Regions from separate parts of the Homo sapiens genome. Here all the other regions are linked to region 1. Evidence: promoter capture Hi-C in human tissues and cell types (Jung and others, 2019). All regions are on one chromosome and are shown on one strand. Each heading gives the region's core, a stretch centred on a gene start or on the middle of the fragment in contact. The rest is flanking DNA. Distances are from core to core; before and after follow the strand shown.

The links. The method cuts DNA at HindIII sites, captures the fragments that hold promoters and counts their contacts. A contact is called where the count stands out against the background at its distance.
Region 2: a contact is called between the fragment with the promoter of FIBP here and the fragment with the promoter of LTBP3 in region 1, in 1 of the 25 tissues and cell types used here (dorsolateral prefrontal cortex).
Region 3: the fragment with the promoter of SNX32 here is called in contact with the fragment with the promoter of LTBP3 in region 1 in 3 of the 25 tissues and cell types used here (dorsolateral prefrontal cortex, hippocampus and lymphoblastoid cells).
Region 4: a fragment that was not itself captured here is called in contact with the fragment with the promoter of LTBP3 in region 1 in 1 of the 25 tissues and cell types used here (pancreas).
Region 5: a fragment that was not itself captured here is called in contact with the fragment with the promoter of LTBP3 in region 1 in 1 of the 25 tissues and cell types used here (dorsolateral prefrontal cortex).
Region 6: the fragment with the promoter of SART1 here is called in contact with the fragment with the promoter of LTBP3 in region 1 in 2 of the 25 tissues and cell types used here (bladder and spleen).

The regions. Positions count from the first base shown.
Region 1 is chr11:65,556,922-65,560,335 of GRCh38, reverse strand. It overlaps LTBP3 (latent transforming growth factor beta binding protein 3), which reads left to right and starts at 1,977. Exons shown (of 28, transcript NM_001130144.3): 1 at 1,977-2,707. The coding sequence starts at 2,377. RefSeq lists silencers at 1,699-1,858, 1,909-2,148. The HindIII fragment of the contact is 15,125 bases long and covers 1-3,414 here.
Region 2 is chr11:65,886,481-65,889,967 of GRCh38, reverse strand. It overlaps FIBP (FGF1 intracellular binding protein), which reads left to right and starts at 1,497. Exons shown (of 10, transcript NM_004214.5): 1 at 1,497-1,634; 2 at 1,836-2,034; 3 at 2,242-2,368. The coding sequence starts at 1,550. RefSeq lists a silencer at 1,267-1,406 and an enhancer at 1,527-1,596. The HindIII fragment of the contact is 8,273 bases long and covers 1-3,487 here.
Region 3 is chr11:65,831,907-65,835,409 of GRCh38, reverse strand. It overlaps SNX32 (sorting nexin 32), which reads right to left and starts at 1,447. Exons shown (of 13, transcript NM_152760.3): 1 at 1,309-1,447. The coding sequence starts at 1,344. LOC124902693 reads left to right here and starts at 1,611. Exons shown (of 7, transcript XM_047427980.1): 1 at 1,611-3,503. The coding sequence starts at 1,899. RefSeq lists an enhancer at 1,366-1,455 and silencers at 1,380-1,592, 1,766-1,895. The HindIII fragment of the contact is 13,089 bases long and covers 1-3,503 here.
Region 4 is chr11:65,162,868-65,166,315 of GRCh38, reverse strand. No RefSeq gene overlaps it. Among named protein-coding and RNA genes, the nearest start is that of SPDYC, 5.6 kb to the left of the region's middle. The HindIII fragment of the contact is 5,816 bases long and covers 1-3,448 here.
Region 5 is chr11:65,098,563-65,101,806 of GRCh38, reverse strand. All of the region lies in intron 2 of VPS51 (VPS51 subunit of GARP complex), which reads right to left. Among named protein-coding and RNA genes, the nearest start is that of VPS51, 4.0 kb to the right of the region's middle. The HindIII fragment of the contact is 4,540 bases long and covers 1-3,244 here.
Region 6 is chr11:65,960,134-65,963,766 of GRCh38, reverse strand. It overlaps SART1 (spliceosome associated factor 1, recruiter of U4/U6.U5 tri-snRNP), which reads right to left and starts at 2,033. Exons shown (of 20, transcript NM_005146.5): 1 at 1,674-2,033. The coding sequence starts at 1,986. RefSeq lists an enhancer at 1,388-2,175. The HindIII fragment of the contact is 22,503 bases long and covers 1-3,633 here.

The DNA of each region.
Region 1 (3,414 bases), core at 728-3,227:
CCCACCACCACTACACCTTCGGCTCTCCCTCTCCACCACACCCTGTTGTTCCACTGGCCTTCCCTCAGTTCTCTGGATAGCCTCCCCCTGCAGCCTCCCCTGAGGTCAGATGCCCACAGGTGTGACTCACTCCTACTCATCTTCCAGCTTCCGATGGAAGACTCTCTTTGTCTCCCAGGTCCCAGCCCTCTCCTGTCCTGCTTCCCTGCCCTTCTCTGTCACGGTACCAGCCTCTGTTGTAGCCACAGTTCTGTGTGAATTGATCTGGCACATATCCAGCTCTCCTAGTACAGCAGCTCCAGGAAGGCAGGACTGGTTCTATTTGTGGCCAAGAGCTTAGGATGTGGTGGAGTCTCAGTTTGTTGAGTGAATTTTTTACATTTATTTTTTAATTTTTTGTTTTTTATTACCAGTAGTTGAACATAGATGTTGAGTGAATAGATACCCATCTCACAAGCAAGGAAACTGGGGCTTAGAGACAGTAAGAATCCAACCCTGGACTGTTTGACTGTGCTGTGCTCCATGGTGAGCCACAGCCAGCTCTAGGCAGAGTCAGGACAGGTTCAGATGAGTGTTAGGAAAAAATGAGTATACAATGCTCAGCCCTGTGCCTGGCAGGTGGTCGGCACCTAGCATTATTCCCTGCCTCCGTGTGGACCAGGGCCCCAAGAAGCAGGGGCTTGCCCCTCACACCCCATCCTGGATTCCGGCAGCAGGGATCCCTGGGGACATGTGATTGTCCCTCCCAGCCCTGCACCGCTTAGTAAGGGGGACTTACTAAGCGTCCCCCTAAAGCTACCCACATCAACTTACGCTCAAAGTAAAAACAGAGTTCCTTGGACAGGTGTGCCTGAAAGTGAGTCCCTGAACCTCCTCTCCCCAATTAGACTGCTGCCCCGGGTGCTGTCCGGGAGAGGGTCTGGTGCCGCCCTGACTTGGCAGCGCTTTTCCTGGATGTGCCCTAGCCGTCCCCACCTCCTGCTGAGTTCTGTGAGTCAGAGACGGAACCCTGGGGTCTCCTGGCAGGCCCCACAGTAAGGCCTGGGCCCCCGCACGTTGCAGCCTTTCCTTCCAGACCAGCGGACAAGCCTGGTCTGGAACTATGCTCCTCTCCAGCCATGGCCAACCTGAAGACCCCCACCCCCAGCCGCTGCCAGCCCCTGCCCTGGGGCTCTGCTGTGCCCCTCTCCAGCCCCTGGGCCCTCGGACAGCGCCCCCGTCCTCCCGGCTGTTAGCCTGGGAAGGGGGCCAGGCCCTGAGCTCAGACCTTGGCGATTCCAGAGTGTCTGAGGCCCAGAGCCAGCCCCGCCAGCACGGCCAGACGAAAGGAAAGGGGGGAGGTGGCAGGGTGGGCACCAGGAAGCCATTCCGAGGGGGCTGGCAGGGAAGCTGGGTTCTAGCTTTGTTCTTTCTGCTCCTCTTCTGGACCCCACAGACTTCCTCCTGGGACCTCCGTGAGCCCTGGCCAAAGGCTGTCCCCACCCTTTAGCCCTTTCCTCAGAGGGGATTGGACCAGCACTAACGAGAAGTTACTTTGGGGCCCTGAGACCCCCACGTTTGCAAGGGAGGCTGGGAAAGAGCTGGAAGGCCTGGGCTCCGGCTCCACCCGGCCTCCATCGTCAGTGTGACCCGGCAGGGCCACCTCTCTCCCTCAGCCTCGGTATCTCGCTCTACGCAGGCCTCCCCGCCCCGCCCCGCCCGGAGGAATCCGCGGCCGGCCAGACGGTCCCAGGTGAGGGCCCTCTGGAAAGGGCCCAGCGCGGCCGCGGGTTCCGGCGGGGGCGGGCATCTGGGGTGGGGACTGTCCCCGCGCCACCCCCCAGCCTCCGCCAGCCTGCACACCCTCGCTTCTCCAGGCGGCAGAGGCGACGCTTTAAACAACAAAAAAAAAAAAACTGTGTCCCTGGCCCGGGGCCAGCGTCCCAGCCCCCCTCGCCGCCGCCGCGCCGCGCTCCAGCCAGGGAAAACAACTGCTCACTTCTCCCTGAGCCCTCCCCGCGCGCTCCCTGCCTCCCCGCGGCCGCGGGAGAGGAGCCCGGCCAGGGGGAGGCGCGGAGCGGGCCGGCCGCCCGGCCTTCCTCTCCCTCGCTCCTCCTCTCCGCCTCAACTTGCTCCGGCCTCCTCGCTCCTGCCTGAGTTCGGGGCCTGGTCTGGGCTTCGTCCTGGGGCTGGGAAGTTTCTGCGCTCCCCGCTGTCCAGTCTGCATCTCCGCGCCTCCCGCCGGGCCCCCGCGGTCCCCTCCCGCCCGCTTCCCCCGCTGCCCTCCCTCGCTGCCCCCTACCCTCTCCCGGGGCTCCCGGCCCTCTACTCCCTTCGGGCGCGGGCCCCTCGCCCCGCCCGGGCGCGCCCCCCCTCCCCCGGGTCCTGCGGCCCCGGATGCCCGGGCCCCGAGGGGCTGCTGGCGGCCTGGCCCCTGAGATGCGCGGGGCGGGGGCGGCGGGGCTGCTGGCGCTGCTGCTGCTGCTGCTGCTGCTGCTGCTGGGCCTGGGCGGCAGGGTCGAGGGGGGGCCGGCCGGCGAGCGGGGCGCAGGCGGGGGCGGGGCGCTGGCCCGCGAGCGCTTCAAGGTGGTCTTTGCGCCGGTGATCTGCAAGCGGACCTGTCTCAAGGGCCAGTGTCGGGACAGTTGTCAGCAGGGCTCCAACATGACGCTCATCGGAGAGAACGGCCACAGCACAGACACGCTCACGGGCTCCGGCTTCCGCGTGGGTGAGGGCCGGGGGCACGGCTGGGGGCAGGGGAAGGACAGGCACCAGGCCCGGTGGGAGAGCTAGTGGGGTCTTGGCCTTAGAGACTGGGGGCTGAGGGTATAAAGGGCAGAGATCCGAGGGCCTGGGGGACCAGGGGCCTCAGGGAACTTGGGAGGCTGGAACTCTGGGGGCCAGAGTTGGAGGGCTGCATGGAGGCCTGGACTTTGAAGCTTTGCGTTAGGGTTGGGGCCTAAGGGGTGGGGAAATGCAGAGGTCCTGGATGACACTGGCTTCCCAGAAGGTGCTGAGTTCTGAGCAGGAGCACACAGGGTTTTTGAGGAATGTGAGCCGGGGACAGGAAGCCTCAGAGAAGGGCTAAATATTCCCGCAAGAAGCAGACTTGCTGGAAGAAACAAGAAAAGTCTTTACAAAATGTCTAAAGTAGGGCCTGCCAGAGTAGACACCTGCATTCCCTGGGAGGAGGAGCTAAGGTCAGGGCTGGGGATGGGAGCCGGCTACTGGCAAGGTCTGAGTAGGGAGGGTGTTGAGGCCTAAAAGTAGGGTGCAGGCCTGAAGGTAGGGACTAGTTCGGGGTTCTCAGCCTCTCCTTTTCCAATGCCTCCCCATAAGCTCCTAACATCCTGCCTCAGAGGCCCTCAGGGCCCCCCTCATCCTCCCCCAAGCCCCTACACCCTCCCCAGTTCAGCTTGGAGTCCACCCCCTCCC
Region 2 (3,487 bases), core at 248-2,747, 330 kb before region 1:
GATGCTATCCAAGAGGCTCTGGTAGATCCATAGGACTTTGCCAAGTAAAGAGCTATTTCAGGGAGAGAGAATAACATAGTGAAAGACACTGGTGCCCGAAAGAGCCTAGCTGCTTTAGGAACAATGAGGATAGCTTGGTTTTTGAAAAGCAGATGTGTCGAGAAAATGCTAAGAGAGAGAGAGCGAGGCTTCAAAGGTAGGTAAAAGCCAGATTCTTAAGAACTTCCAGTACCAGGTTGGAGCATTTCCAAAGGCCACTAAGGATGTTAAGCAAGAGAGTAACATTTGTAAGGATGTTAAGCAAGGGAGTAACATTTTAAAATATGCCTTTAACTGGCCAAGATGGTGAAACCCCGTTTCTACTAAAAATACAAAAATTAGCCGGGCGTGGTGGGAGGAGCCTGTAATCTCAGCTACTCGGGAGGCTGAGGCAGAGAACTGCTTGAACCCGGGAGGCGGAGGTTGCAGTGAGCCGAGATCGCGCCACTGCACTCCAGCCTGGGCGACAGAGCGAGACGCTGTCTCGAAAAAAAAAATGTATTTAAAAAGATTGGGCTGATCTGTGTGGGCCGGACCCTGCGGGGAGGGGACATAAACAGGGAGATTAGTAACGGTGTCAAAGAGCAAGAGCAAGGAGAGCTAAGCAGAAAGACGGCTGGGGCAGCATCAGTGGGGGTGGAGAGGACAAACAGATACTAGAAATATTCGGGAGGCAAATCAGCCGAACTGAATGTGGGGAGAGAGGAGTCTGGAAGAACGCCCAGGTTTCTCGTATGAGAACTGGTGGATGTTAGGGCTGTCACTGAGATAGGGACGCAGGAAAGAAACAAATGGGGAGAGGCAGAGGTCTGTCTAGAATATGTTGAGCTTTTGAGGGGCTTACGGGAAGAGTGTGGATAGACTTGGCCGATAGGCGGCCCCTCCGGATGTGGACTTCCAGGCAGAGCTCGGAGGGGCAGAATTAGAGACGTCAGTAGCTCGTGGGGCTGGGGGTGGGATTAAAACCAAGGTGGGAGCAGGTGCCCCAAACCCAGGAGAGGTGCTCATGCGCAGGATGGACAAACCAGTCTCCAGCAAGAGCCCGAGGAAGTCGGGTCATACCCCATTTTTGCGGAGATTTAGGATAGAGCCCTGTGAAACCCCTAAGTTTAGGATACAGGTCAAACTTAGGAGGTCCCGAAGAGGGCAGAGAAGGTGGGAGAAAAGCCAGGAGGAAGTGAGGGGAGAAGTTACGGGGACCGAGGAGACGAAGAGGAGGCACTCCCTTCGTGCTCCTGCAGACGGCCGGGGAGGGAGACAGGACGCAGGAGCCCGGGACTCCCCCTCCCGGCGGGAGGAAGCGGTGCTCCTCCGCGCAGGCCTCCCCCTCTCTTCCCTCGCCGCTCCCGCCCCGTCCCCTCCCCGACTGGCTGTGTCCCGGAAGTGGTCATAAGCTGGGTCCCGATGCCGCGAGCGGAATCTCGGCGCTCCCGGAAGTGGCCTGAAGGCGGCGCGCCAGTCCCGAGCAGTGCTCGCTCCTGCTCGGGGCGCTGCGGCCCCGGGCGTCGCCATGACCAGTGAGCTGGACATCTTCGTGGGGAACACGACCCTTATCGACGAGGACGTGTATCGCCTCTGGCTCGATGGTTACTCGGGTCCGTGAGGGGCGTGTGGGGAAGCCAGTCGGCGGAGCGGTTGTGTTGAATGGGAGAGGGGGCGGGGCTAAGACTTGGGCATCCTTTAGGGAAGTGGGCGAGCGCCTGGGAATAAGAGGTGTTATAGGGGTCTGGGATGGAAACCCTTAAGGGCCTCTGGCGTCGGCGGGGCGGGGCCTGATGCTAGCGTCCGCTTTCCAGTGACCGACGCGGTGGCCCTGCGGGTGCGCTCGGGAATCCTGGAGCAGACTGGCGCCACGGCAGCGGTGCTGCAGAGCGACACCATGGACCATTACCGCACCTTCCACATGCTCGAGCGGCTGCTGCATGCGCCGCCCAAGCTACTGCACCAGCTCATCTTCCAGATTCCGCCCTCCCGGCAGGCACTACTCATCGAGAGGTGCTCACCCTCTGGGATGGTGGAGACATCAACCAGTCTGACTGTATACCCATTTTGCCGGCTGAAACAGGCCCAGGGAGGGATGGGATTTACCCAGCCATCAGAAAGTTGAGAGTGGAAGGGGTCAGACCTAGGCCCTGCTAGGCCCCGCCAGACTCCCTTTCCTGTCTTTTATGGAGGGTCAATGGTGTTCTCTGACTCCACAAGGTACTATGCCTTTGATGAGGCCTTTGTTCGGGAGGTGCTGGGCAAGAAGCTGTCCAAAGGCACCAAGAAAGACCTGGATGACATCAGCACCAAAACAGGCATCACCCTCAAGAGCTGCCGGAGACAGGTATGCACTGCATCCACACGGACACAGCATCCCATCTACACTTCACTCCCTCCCTTTGGCCACTGGCCCAGTTCCAGCCTCTGATTGTGGCAGCAGCTTCATACCTAGTCTTCTCCTCCCTTCCCCTTTCCCCTCCTTTTTTTTTTTTTTTTTCGAGATGGAGTCTTGCTCTGTGGCCCAAGCTGGAGTGCAGTGGCGCGACCTCAGCTCACTGCAACCTCCGCCTCCTGGGTTCAGGTAATTCTTGTGCCTCAGCCTCTGCAGTAGCTGAGATTACAGGCGCCCGCTCCCACACCCAGCTAATTTTTGTATTGTTAGTAGAGACAGGGTTTCACCATGTTGGCCAGGCTTGTCTTGAACTCCTGGCCTCAAGTGATCATCCGCCTCGGCCTCCCAAAGTGCTGACATTACAGGCGTGAGCCACCGTGCCTGGCTCCCTGTTGTGCCTTCCAAGCTATCCTGTACTGTATGGCCAGAGTGACCTTTCAGAATGACCTGAAATTTTATCAGACCCCTGATAAACTTTCATTGGCTCCCACTGCCTCCTGGGTAGCAGCTGCACTCCTTGGCTTTGACCTATGGACTGTCCTGTTATCTCATCCCTGCAGACCTCTCTAGGCTTACATTTCTCCAGCCCCAGGCTTTCCTTTACTCATGTTGCTTCTACCTGGAGGGTACTGTTCTTGGCAATATCTACCCCTTGAAATCCAAGACAAGAGGTGAGATGCCACCTTCTCCACAAGCCTTTTTGGTACGCCAGGAAGAAGTAACCCTTCTGGGTCTTTGATGCCTTTCTTTTGTATCTCCTGTGAGCTTTCTGTTTATAGCTTAGCATTTGTTTTTTATTTTTTAGTTTCTAGGGCTTAGCCAGGAAAGTCTCTTCCAACTCAAACTTGTGAAGATCTGGAGAGCATGGTGCTAAAATGGGGTTGGATTTAGAGATAAGATTGAGTAAACATTTATCCAAGGCAAGATACAGCAGGAGTTGCTAAGCATTTGATTTGATAACAAGTACTAATAACTAATAGTTGGTTGAAGGAATAACAAATGCTAAATCAGCATCTGCTGACTGGATAGGTGGATGGGGAAGGGAGAGATGTTCAATAAGTGGTTTATTGG
Region 3 (3,503 bases), core at 198-2,697, 280 kb before region 1:
AAAGGAGAAGAGGATGCCAGCCTCTGCTCAATCCCTAACATCCTGCCCTCCTCCCCGCCCTCACCTCCCACCCCCTACCCACCTACCCCCATCAAGACAGCCTGAGTTGGTCTTGGGGAGGGTAAGAGTGACAGTGACGGGTCCCTTTCCATCTGTAAGGACAAAGGCAAAACCCTGCCTCCCTTGGCATCCTCATCAGTCCGCACACAGGTGCCACAGAGGCTCCCCACTCCCTTGCTCAAGTCTCCTTTCTCTCACTTGCGCAGACACACACATACACACAGAGACACATGGGCACATACACACACACAGACACACGAGACAAACACAGACACACGCACACACAGACACACATAGAAACACACACAGATACACAGACACACACAAACACACAGGCACAGAGAAACACACACACAGACACACACAACGACATACACAGATCATACACAGGCACACAGACACACACAGATGCACACACAGACACACTGACATAGACACACACAGATATACAAAGACACACGGATACAGACACACACAGACACATGCAAACACACACACAGACCCAGAAATACACAGACACACACACACAGACACACGCAGACCATACACACACACAGAGACACACACACACAGACATAAAGATGCACGCAGACCATACATAGACACAGAGACAGACACACACTCAGACACAAAGAGACACAGACCTGCGCAGACACACACAGGCACATGCGTGCACACACAGATACACACAGAGACACACACAGATGCATACATGCACACATGCAGACCATACACACAGACAGACACAGACACAAAGACACACGCAGACCATACACAGACACAGACACACAGACACACACACACAGACATGCACAGACACACACAGAGACAGACACAGACATGCACGCACAAACACCCACATGGACGCATACGTGCACACACACAGACACACACAGGCCATACACACACACACAGAGACACGGAGACACACAGACACACACACAGATACACAGAGACACACAAAGACACAGACACACACTGAGACACACACAGACACACAGACACACAGAGACACAAATACAGACATACACAGATACACACACACACAGACATATGCAGGCACATCGACATACACACAGACACACAGAGAAACAGACACATGCAGACTATACACACACAGACACACACAGAAACACACAGAGGCAGACCACACACACACAGACACACACACACCACCGCATGATTGGGCATCACGGGCTTTCATGGAGTGAGGGGAGGCTGGGGTGGGGGTCTTCATCCTTTCTCTACCTTGCCCTCCTTCCCAACCTCCGCATACGTCTCCATCGCTCTCCTGGGCTTCAGCGTCCGGCCACTGCCCGCGTGCTCCCGCAGGTCGTCCCCGTAACTCGCCCGAGGAACTGACCGAGTGAGGATGCTCTCAGCTGACGGGGACGCTCTCCCCCGCCCGGCCAAGGAGTCGCCTGGAGTCGGGGGCGGTTCCCACCGCGTTTCCCTCAGCCACGCCTTTCGATTGGGTAGCGGGGCACCGCGCGTGACGCCATTGGCTGCATTGTCTGTCGTTCCTGTCCCAGGCCCCAGCTTTTAAGGGACACGCGGCACGGAGAGTGGGCCGGTGATAGGCGACAGTGTGGGAGCTGGGGTCAGAGTTCATAGGGTCGCAGAGGCCGCGTGCCGCGTCTCCCTCCAGTCCCCGGGGGACTGACCCCCACAACAACCCCGTGCCGCCGTTCCGGGCCCCTCCTTCCAACGGCCACGTGCGGCCTGCGCGTGCGCACTCGCCCAGTTTGGCGCCCACCAGGCAGTGGGGAAGGGGAAGGGGAAGGGGAAGAGGGTGAGGGTGGCAGGGTGGGGACAGGGAATGGGAAGCAGTGGTGGGGATGTGGGTGGTGGACCAGGGGCGAGGGCAGGGGACAATGTCTGTGGAGAAGGGGGGTCTGTTTAGGTTTCCGCTCTTGGACGGGAGGGAGCGGCGGGGTAAGCAGCCTAGGAGGACTAGGGAGCTCCACAAGTCCCGCGGCCAGGGCGCCCCAAGCGAGGCCGGGGTCCGCGAACGGTCGCCACTGGAGCGGGGCTGCAAGGGGGTGCCGATGCTGCGAGAGAAAACCTGGGGACCTTGGAACGGGCTCATGGTAATTGGGAAGAGAGTGGAGCTCCTGACTAGAAACACTCGAAAGCCGAAGCTGGAGTCTGAGTACTGGAGACTGGAAGATGTGGAAAAGACGGTCTTGAAAGGGAAGTCAGGCCCGAGTCAGGAAAGGATGGATGTGAAGCTGCTATACCGTGGAGCAAGTGCATCACAAGCTTCAGCAGATTTGGGGAAAGACAGCCCAAGGGGTATTTGGGGAAAGCAAGAGGTCAAACACGAAATAAAGGCTAAATCTAAGAGTGCAGGGATGACAGCAGGGCCTATGAAGGGGTCTGGGTTTGAAGAGAGGTTGAGGTCTGCTGGGGAGAAGGTAGGGACCAGTGGAGAGGACTTGAGATCCAATGGATATAAACTGGGACAGGATGAGAAGGGGTTGAGGTCTAGTGTAGACAAGATGAGATCAAGTGTAGAGAAGCTGAGGTCTACTAGTGAGAAGCTGGTGTGCAGGGGAGAGAAGCAGGGGTCCAGTGGAGTGAAGCTGAGGTCCAGTGGCAGAAAGCTGAGATCAAGTGGAGAGAATTTGAGATCAAGTAGAGAGAAGCTGAGATGGAGTGGAGAGAAGCTGGGAACTAGTGGAGAGAAGCTGGGAACCAGTGATGAGAAGCTGAGGTTGAGTGGAGAGATGCTGAGATCAATCAGAGAGAAGCTGAGGTTGAGTGGAGAGAAGCTGGGAACCAGTGATGAGAAGCTGAGGTTGAGTGGAGAGAAGCTGAGGTTGAGTGGAGAGAAGCTGAGATCAAGCAGAGAGAAGCTGAGGTTGAGTGGAGAGAAGCTGGGAACCAGTGATGAGAAGCTGAGGTTGAGTGGAGAGAAGCTAAGATCAAGCAGAGAGAAGCTGAGGTTGAGTGGAGAGAAGCTAAGATCAAGCAGAGAGAAGCTGAGATTGAGTGGAGAGAAGCTGGGAACAAGTGATGAGAAGCTGAGGTTGAGTGGAGAGAAGCTGAGATCAAGCAGAGAGAAGCTGGGAACCAGTGGAGAGAAGCTGAGATCAAGCAGAGAGAAGCTGAGGTTGAGTGGAGAGAAGCTGGGGTCAAGTGCGGAGAAGCTGAGATCTAGTGAGGAGAAGTTAGGGACCAGCGGGGAGAAATTGGAGGGTTCAAGAATGGGGAGCATAAATGAGAAGAACATTGAAAAAGTGGTAGAAGTTACTGGCGATGAAAGAGTGATGGCATTTACTCATGATGAGATGGAAATTCCTTTTGAAAGTGTCAAAGGGAGTGAGGAACTACAAGGGACTGAGAAAGGAGTGGGAGTTGAGGGGGGCATCTTGAGTGAAGTGAAAGATATCACTGATGAATCTGTTTCTATGGAAAAAAAAGATATTATAGGTGAAGGT
Region 4 (3,448 bases), core at 145-2,644, 390 kb after region 1:
GGAATTTATGACCTCAAACGCGCGTGTTAGAAAATAAGAAAAGCTGTCACGCTGATGAACTGAACTCCATCTTAAAAAGTCACAAGCCAGCCAGGGGGACTTCCGGGTCCTGAGGCCCAAGGGGCTGCCTGGGTCCCCATCCGCCAACTTTTGCTGTCCACACAGCCCCAGACAACAAGAAAGGAAAAATAAAACGCTGCCAAAACCACAGCGTCGGCATAACTTGAAAGCAGAGAAGGTCCAAACTTCAAGATAAATGTAAATAAAAAGAAAGCGACCATATCCCCGCACGCCGTCGTGCGCTGCGGCCTCTCCCAGGCACGAGGCTTTGTGCCAAGAAAAGCTGGGGAAGGAGGGGAGAAAGGAGTATCGATCCGGGCTGGGGTTGGTCGAGAGCAACTATCAGAAAGACTGCGACATTCTAAAATCTGAAAATACCAAGAAGACGTCCTGGGAAGTCAGAGCTCAGACCTCAGGGAAGGGGCTTACAAGTATGTGCGATAGGAAGGGGAGGTCGTTAAAGTCCACTGATTCCGCGGGAGGGGTAAAAAAAAAAAAAAAAGGGCTAAAATGGGCCAGAAGCATCCGTGGGCAATTGAGTAAGTGAAGTGGGAAAATGCAGAAGGGAGAAATTGAGGGTCCGAAGAGAACCAAGCAATGGGAGAACACAAAACCCTACCCACCCCCACACCGAAACAAACAAATAAAAAGCTTCTAAACCATCTGAACTTTGCTATATTGACCTAACAGTGTGCTATTGAGCTAGGAATCTTGTAAACCATCCAATACCACAAAAACGAATAGAAAGAAGATGAATAGATCCGTATGGAGCTGATATTTTAAAAAATCTGAAAACAAAATAACACACACCAACCAAGAAAAATTCCCCTGGAAAAAAAAAAAACCACGTTTCCAAAGAAACAAAATATTTACAAAAAATGATCATATCTTAGGTCACAAAGAAATCATCAGTACCTTAAAAAAAGTAGAAATATACAAACAATATTCTCTGAGCACAGTGTAATAAAATGAGACATCATTATTATTATTATTTTTGAGACGGAGTCTCTCTCTGTCGCCAGGCTGGAGTGCAGTGGTGCAATCTCGGCTCACTGCAACATCAGCCTCCGGGATTCAAGTGATCCTCCTGCCTCAGCCTCCCGAGTAGCTGGGACTACAGGTGGGCCCCACCACACCCAGCTAATATTTTATATTTTTAGTAGAGATGGGGTTTCACCATGTTGGCCAGGATGGTCTCGATCTGTTGACCTTGTGATCCACCTGCCTCAGCCTCCCAAAGTGCTGGCTTACAGGTGTGAGCCACCATGCCCGGTGAAAATTATTATTATTAACAAAGACAAACACAGCCTGGCACAGTGGCTCACACCTGCAATCCCAGCACTTTGAGATGCCAAGATGGGAGAATTGCTTGAGCCCAGAAGTTCAAGACCAGCCTAGGCAACATAGAGAGATCCTGTCTCTATAAAACAAAACAAAACACACACACACACACACACACACACACACACACACACACACACACACACCAAAAAACCTAGCTGGGCATGGTGGATCACTTGAGCCTGAGAGGCAGAGGTTGCAGTGAGCCATGTTCGGGACACTGCACTCCAGCCTGGACAACAGAGCAAGAATCTGTCTTGGAAAAAAAAAAAAGACAAACCACTAGTTACCTTGTTTCAGGGGGAAAAAAGGGAGAAAGACAAATATAACAAATATATGACAAAGGGGAGGGAACCATAGGAATAAGATATTTTAAAAAATTTAAATACACCACCAATTTCCAAAATGGTGGTGTAAGGAGCTCAGCAGACCCATTCCCCAACAAAACAACCATTTAACTAGAAAAATTTATTTATTTATTTACTTTTGAGACGCAGTCTCACTCTGTCTCCAGGCTGGAGTGCAGTGGCGTGATCTCGGCTCACTGCAACATCCGACTCGTGGGTTCAAGTGATTCTCCTGCCTCAGCCTCCCGAGTGGCTGGGATTACAGGCACGCGCCACCACATCCAGCTAATTTTTCTATTTTTTTAGTAGAGACAGGGTTTCACCATACTGGCCAGGCTAGTCTCGAACTCCCGACCTCGTGATCCGCCTGCCTCGGCCTTCCAAAGTGCTGGGATTACAGATGTGAGCCACCCCGCACCCGGCCAGAAAAATTTATTTTAAGAACCCAATCATTTCAAATCTGTAAATTATCCTAAAGGCACATACAGCAAATGGGGAAGCATATTCTCTGACTGAACATGAGCAAAAACATAAACTCACTGAAGTGCAGTAGCCAGTCTGCAGGCCACACACGTATCTACTAGTAAAGATAAAAATCTGGAACTTAAGCACAAACTTTGACCAATAAGTGGTTTATGGTCATTTTGACCATAAGTGAGTTGTGCTGACCGGGGGTGACCCCTAGAGAGCCAAGCTAAAAGATTTTTTTTTTTTTTTGAGACAAGGTATTGCTATATCACCCAGGCTGGAGTGCAATGGCATGATTATAGCTCTCTGCTACCTTGAACTCTTAGGCTCAAGCTATCCTCCTGCTTCAACCCCAGAAATGCTGGGATTACAAGCATGAGCCACCAGGCCCAGTTGTTAGATTTTTTTAAAAGAAAAAAAATCAGAAAACAGACATTCCAGGCTACACACTGCAAGGAAAATACACTTCACAAAGTTAATTCAGTCAAGTCACTAAACCAAAAAAGAAATGGCCAACCAAACAGTAACAACATTGACTCCTAAGAGAGGGCTGGCATCCAGAGTTTCTACAGTGTATTATCTAAAATGTACATTTTGGCCCAGAGTGGTGGCTCTCGCCTGTAATCCCAGCACTTTGAGAGGCCAAGGCGGGGGCAGATCACCTAAGGTCAGGAGTTTGAGACCAGCCTGGCCAATATAGTGAAACCCTGTCTCTACTAAAAATACAACAATTAGCTGGGCGTGGTGGTGCACGCCTGTAATCCCAGCTACTTGGGAGGCTGAGGCAGGAGAATCCCTTGACCCCGGGAGGCAGAGGTTGCAGTGAGCCAAGATCATGCCACAGCACTGTAGCCTGGCGACAGAGAGACTCGCTGTCTCAAAAAACAAACAAACAAAAAAAGTACATTGTAATAAAAACATTAGATTCATTTAAGTATATTTCTAAATGCACTCCCATATTTATTGCAGTACTATTCACAATAGCCAAAATATGAGATCAACCTAAGTGTCCATCAGTGGATAAATAGGTAAAGAAAATGTGGTATATATACACAATGGAATATTGTTCACCCATAAAAGGAACAAAATTCTGTCATTCTCAACAACATGGATGAAACTGGATAAAAGTACATATTATTTGTTTATTTATTTATTTATTTATTTATTTTTGAGAGGGGTGTCTCATTCTGTTGCCCAGGCTAGAGTGCGGTGGCACGATCTCAGCTCACTGC
Region 5 (3,244 bases), core at 658-3,157, 460 kb after region 1:
TGTCTGTTAATTTTCTTTTTTTTTTTTTTTTTTTTTTTTTTTTTGAGACAAGGTCTGGCTCTGTCACCCAGGCTGGAGTGCAGTGACACAATCTTGGCTTACTGCAACCTCTGCCTCCCAGGTACAAGCCTTCCACCTCAGCTTCCTGAGCAGCTCGGACTACAGGGACACAACACCACACCCAGCTAATTTTTGTATTTTTTGTAGAGACAGGTATAACCTGTTGGCCAGGATGGTCTCGAACTCCTGAGCTCAAGCAATCTGCCTGCCTCTGCCTCACAAAGTGTTGGGATTATAGGTATGAGCCATAATCCCACCTGGGCTCTGTTAATTTTCAGTGAAATGTACTGTCAAAGACTGCTTTGTCTTTGCCTAGAGAAAAGAATTAGGAGAGGCTTTTCCCTGTATAATGTTTGAGATCTTTCTAATTTTGACACAAGTAAATGCATTATTACATAATGAAACTCAATGTCTAGGTGAGAGGTTGGCAAACTACAGCCTGCAGGCCAAATCTGGCTCAATGCCTGGTTTTCTTTTTAATTGGGATATAATTGACATACCAATTCAGTGGTTTTTAATATGTTTAATATATTCACAAGGTTGTACAACCAACCTCACTACGTAATTCCAGAACATTTCATCATCCCCTAAAGAAACCCTGTAACCCTTGGCAGTCATTCCTTATTCCCCCACTCCTAGAACTTGGCAACCATTAATCTAGTTTCTGTCTCTATGGATTTGTCTATTCGCTACAGAATACATTTAACAGAAATGGAATCATAGGCATATGAAACATTAGCATGTTTCCAAGGTTAATCTATGTTGTAGCCTGTGTCAGTATGTTATATCTATTTTTATGGCTGAATAATATTCCACTGTGTGGATATTTGTTTATATTCATTCAATTGATGGCCATTTGGATTGCTTCCACCTTGTGGCTATTATAAAAAGTGCTGCTATTGGCCAGGCATGGTGGCTCTTGCCTGTAATCCCAGTACTTTGGGAAGCCGAGGCAAGCGGATCACTTGAGGTCAGGAGTTCAAGACCAGCCTGGCCAACAAGGTGGAATCCCGTCTCTAGTAAATATACAAAAAATAAAAATAAAAAAATTAGGCGGGTGTGATGGTGCACACCTATAATCCCAGCTACTCAGGAGGCTGAGGCAGGAGAATCGCTTGAACTGGGGAGGCGGAGGTTACAGTGAGCCAAGATGGCACCACTGCACTCTAGCCTGGGTGACAGAGCTAGACTCCATCTCAAAAAAAAAAAAAAAAAAAAAAACACTGCTATGAACACTTGTGTACATGTTTTTATGTGAACATGTTTTCAATTCTCTTTGGTATATTCCTAGGAGTAAAATTGCCGATCATATGGTAATCTTGTGTGTGGTTTTGAAGAATGGTCAAACTGTCTTCCACACTGGGTGCAGCATTTTGTGGTTTGGATTTGCATTTCCCTAAGACCTAATGATGCTGAGCATATTTATATGTGCTTTTCGGCCACTTGTATGTTTTCTCTGGAGAAGTGTCTATTCAAATCCTTTGCCCATTTTAAATTAGGGTTATTTGTCTTTTTAGCCCTGAGCTAAAAAACGTTCTTTTTATGTTCTGAACACTAGATTTTTATTAGATAACTAACTTGCAAATATTTTCTCCCATTCTGTGGGCTGTCCTTTTATTATTATTTATTATTATTATTATTTTTGAGACGGAGTCTCGCTCTGTTGCCCAGGCTGGAGTGCAGTGGCGCGATCTCGACTCACTGCAACCTCCGCCTCCTGGGTTCAAGCGATTCTCCTGCCTCAGCCTCCTGAGTAGCTGGGACTACAGATGCCTGCCACCATGCCTGACTAATTTTTGTATTTTTAGTAGAGATGGGGTTTCACCATATTGGCCAGCCTGGTCTCAAATGCCTGACCTCAGATGATCCACCCGTCTCGGCCTCTCAGAGTGCTAAGATTATAGGCATAAGCCACCGCACCTGGCCTTTTTATTTATTTATTTATTTTTTGAGACTAGGTCTTGCTCTGTCACCCAGGCTAGAGTGCAATGGTGAGATTATAGCTCACTGCAATCTCCAGCTCCTGGGCTCATGTGATCCACCCACCTTAGCCTCCCCAAGTAGCTGGGTTTATTCTAACAAGTGTGTGCCACCATACCCAGCTATTTTTTTTTTTCTAGATATCGGGTCTCACTATGTTGCACAGGCTGGTCTCAAACTCCTGGGCTCAAGTGATCCTCCCACCTCAGCCTTCCAAAGTGCAGGGATTACAGGCATGAGCCACTGTGCTCAGCCCCATCCATTCCTGCCAGTGCAGCTGGAGGAATCTATTCAAACCAGAAATCTGAGCACATCACTCATTTGTTTTAGCTCTCTGTGGATAAAAGCCAAATCCCTAATACATTCTGGAAGGTTTCTAGTTAAACTGCACATCTACTATCTGCCTGGCTCTGCCCACATTCTGCTTCCCCTCCTGCTACCATAGATGAGCTCCCGGCCCTTTGCTGAGGCCGATGCCTCCATCCCTGCTCTGTTCCACCCCCCTCCTTCCTGAGGACCTAGTTCCTTTCTCATTTTTCTCTCTCTCTTGCCCAATCAACACACACTCCATGCTACATTACTTTCCTGAGTGTCTCGCCCAAGTCTATCAAATCTATGTCTTGAAACACCTTCCTCACGCAACCTCCACCTCCTGGGTTCAAGCAATTCTCCTGCCTCAGCCTCATGAGTAGCTTGGACTACAGGCATGCACCACCTTGCCCAGCTAATTTTTGTATTTTTAGTAGAGACAGGGTTTCACCATGTTGGCCAGGCTGGTCTTGAACTCCTAGCCTCAAGTGATCCACCCACCTCAGCCTCCCAAAGTGCTGGGATCACGGGTGAGAACCCCATGCCCGGCCCCTCACTTAAGCTTCTAAGACATCAATGCTCCTGGTTATCCTCACACTTTTCCAAACGTTTGTTCCTTTTGTGGGATGTACAAAAAGAGCTAAGTCTCAAAATATTATTATACACATTCCAACAAATGGAAAATGTAATCTTATTAAATTCCTGTGAGAAATATCCCAGCACAGAAACTATGATTTCTTGCCATTTTGATGCTGGTATTAGCTAACAGAAAGGTGCCTACTCATGGAATCTGCTTCAAATCAGATAAAAGAACAATGTGTATAGGTTACCACACCCACCACTGTGACACGAGAGTAAGACATCAGAATGCAACCCCACAGATGCTCCCAGAACA
Region 6 (3,633 bases), core at 784-3,283, 400 kb before region 1:
GGGTCATGCCTGTAATCCCAGCACTTTGGGAGGCCGAGGCAGATGGATCACGAGGTCAGAAGTTCAAGACCAGCCTGGCCAAGATGGTGAAACCCCGTCTCTACTAAAAATATAAAAATTAGCCAGGCACGGTGGTGCGCACCTGTAATCCCAGATACTCGGGAGGCTGAGGTAGGAGAATTGCTTGAACCCAGGAGGCAGAGCTTGCAGTGAGCTGAGATCGTGCCACTGCACTCTAGCCTGGGCAATGGAGCAAGACTTTGTCTCAAAAAAACAAAACAAAACAAAAAAAAAACTCTTCCTTTCCTGCATTCCCATCCTGCATCCTACCTTCTCCTTTATCTTAAAGGCTTCTCTCTCCACCTGGGCCATGGATCCCAACCTCTCCAGGCTCCCCAAGGTCACCAGCCTCCTCGTTTCTAAATCTAGTGGGTTCTTTTCGGTTCTGGTTTTGCTTGATCTCCTGTGGTATGTGGGACTGCTGATCGCTCCCTCCTTCTAACAATACTCTCTTCCCAAAGTTCCCATGACACAAAGGTTTTCCTGCCTTTTTGGTTACTCTGTCTCCTTTTTTTGGTAACATCTTTCTCTGCCTACTACTAACATAAGGGCATTTCTCAGGTTCTAGTCCTGACCCCCTCTTCTCATGTCACAGTCTTTCAGGGGCTTCACTGGCCACCCAGATACTGACTCCCAATGGCTTTATCCAGTCCAAACTCTGGATTTCCCCATTACCATCAACCTTGACAACCCCAAAAGTGAACTATCTCCCCCCACCCCCGCTCCAAATCTGCTTCTCTTCCCTACTCCTCAATTTCAGTAGAAATGACACCCACTACCTATCTGGCTGCTCAAGCCAAAATTCAAGGAGTCATCCTCCATTCCTTCTTCCCACCCTCATACAAGTGCTGAGTTCTGTTCATTCCTCCTCCAAAACACCTCTCCAACCTGTCCACTTCTCTCAATCCCACTGCTGCTGCCTTGGTGCAGGCCACCATCAGCCCTCCCCTGGCCTATAGCCCTCCTGGTTTCCTGGTCTCCAGTCCTGACTACCTTTGACTAAATTCTCAATCCAGTGATGTTTACAAAATACGGATCTGAGCAACTCACTCCTCAACTCACATCCATGGCTCCCTACTATCCTCAAGACAATCTACAGTTCTTAACAGAGACTACAGTACAGGGTCCTTTGTGTTCACATCCCTGTCTATCTTACTCCCTCATTTCTCTACCATGCGCCCTACACGATTCGTCCAATACCAGGTTTTTCTTGCCTCTGTATATGCTGACACTACTTCATTCACTCATTCAACATATTTATTGAGAATCTGATTGTACCAGACAACTGAGGAAAACAGAAGCCCTCTGTCCTCAAGCAGCTGAGTGGAGAAAGTCAACCTCTAATCCTAAACAACCGTAGAAAGACTTTTTTCTTTTTGAGACAGAGTCTCGCTTTGTTGCCCAGGCTGGAGTACACTGGCGGGACCGCAGCTCACTGCAGCCTCTAACTCCTGGGCTCAAGGGATCCCGTAGAAAGACTATTTAATAGAGCTGGTAAACAGCTTGGGGGTTTCCTGGCCTGAAGAGCTTCGCTGACACTGCGCGCACACCCAGACCCACGCGTTCCGGGACCCCCGCCCGACCCGCCCCCTGCGCAGGCCCCGCCTCCTCACCGGCCTCGTAGCCGTCATCGCGCTTCTCCCGCTTCACGCGCCGCTCGGAGGGCTCTGCCTGGCTGCGCTCCCGCCCGTGCGTGCTGCTCCGGGCCTCAGCTTCGGCCCCGCGCCGCCCGCTCCCGCGCTCGCCCCCACGTTCCCGGCTCCGCTTCCGTCGTTCGCCACCGCTACCGCCACTGCCGCCACTCCGGTGCTTGTGTTTTTTGTGTTCCCGGTGCCGCGGCGGCTGCTCGGTGGCACCCCCGGTGCCGGCCGCCGCCGTCGTCCCGGCCGCCTCCTTCTCTCCGCGATGCTTCTTGGACGACCCCATAGTGGCACGTCCACTCCGAGCCCGGCTGCCGCCGAGCCCAGACAACGCAAAATGGGAATACTTCCGGGTCGCTCGGCAGCCGCTGTCGTGTTGCCGGAAACTAAGAGCGGCTGCTTCCGTCGCTCGCCTTGGAGCCTGCCCCAGAGGCTCATGGGAAGGCCGGGATCAGCGCTCGACTGCACATTCGCGCCGTCTCGGGTCGGGTGGGTTCTTTGAGCGAGTGGTCCCATTGCGCATGCGCTCCTCAAGGGAAGCGGAATTAACCCGGAGGTGGGATCCCAGAACTGGAAGGACTTAGAGCCCATTAAGTCAGTGTCTTCGTGGCTTTAAGTTCCTCCCCGGCCTCCCTGCGCTTGCACTTCACCGGCAACGGGGTGTTCACTACCTCACGGTCTTTCCGTAGACACCTCCCTCCTACAATGGGCGCTCGCTTAGTGGACTCCTAGGGTCGTGGCTCCAACGGGTGTTGTTTTCCCGAGATCTCCAATTCCACAGCCCAGCTTCAGACCCGCTATAACCAGTATCGTCAGGGAACGCTTCCTTCCCACGTTCCCTGTTTTGTTTTGTTTTGTTTTTTCCCTTGAGATAGGATCTCACTCTGTTGCTCAGGCTGGAGTGCAGTGGCGTGATCACAGCGCACTGCAGCCTCGACCTCCTGGGCTCAAGTGATCCTCCCACCTCAGCCTTCCCAGTAGCTGGGACTACGAGAGTACGCTACCACGCCCCTTTAATTTTTGTATTTTTTTGTAGATGGTTGGTGGGGAGCGGGGGTAGGGGGTGGGGTCACTATGTTGGCCAGGCTGGTCTCGAACTCCTGAGCTCAGGCTATACACCCGCCTTGGCCTCCCAAAGTGCTGAGATTACAGGCATGCGCCACTGCGCCTGGCCCTGGATTGGATTTTTAAAACCTGGCCCCGTGAACTGTTAAGATTGTTTAGGAGCTCCACATGGGCGTCAGTGTATCCCTGGAACCCCTGAAATTGAATGCAAAATGTGGCACATCTGTGTGTATGAGTTTTTTTCTTGAGGAGACCAGCCCTAACTTAAAACTATTGGGACTTAAAACCCCAGTGCAGGCCGGGCGCGGTGGCTCACGCCTGTAATCCCAGCACTTTGGGAGGCCAAGGCAGGCGAATCACGAGGTCAAGAGATCGAGACCATCCTGGCCTACATGGTAAAACCCCGTCTCTACTAAAAATACAAAAATTAGCTGGGTGTGGTGGCGCACACCTGTAGTCCCAGCTACTCAGGAGGCTGAGGCAGGAGAATCGCTTGAACCTGGGAGGCAGAGGTTGCAGTGAGTTGAGATCACACCATTGCACTCCGGCCTGGTGACAGAGCGAGACTCTGTCTTAAAAAAAAAAAAAAAAAGCGCAGTGCACACAATCCCAATCTCTCCTGAAACCCCTCCCCTCACCCAGTGGTTGCTCAGTCTGTGGCTCCCTGTGTGGCACAACTCAGCATGTGTTAGGCTATGTTGTATGCGCCCCTTTAAGGATCCACCCCCTCTCCCACTCACTGGGCGTCCTCAGAGGCAGGAGTCATTTCATCTTATTCATGCTTGAATTTATAGGACCCAACATATACATTGGAGATGGGGTGGAGAAGTCACAGCTCTTGCTCTTTGAGATGTCCCCACTCCTCAGG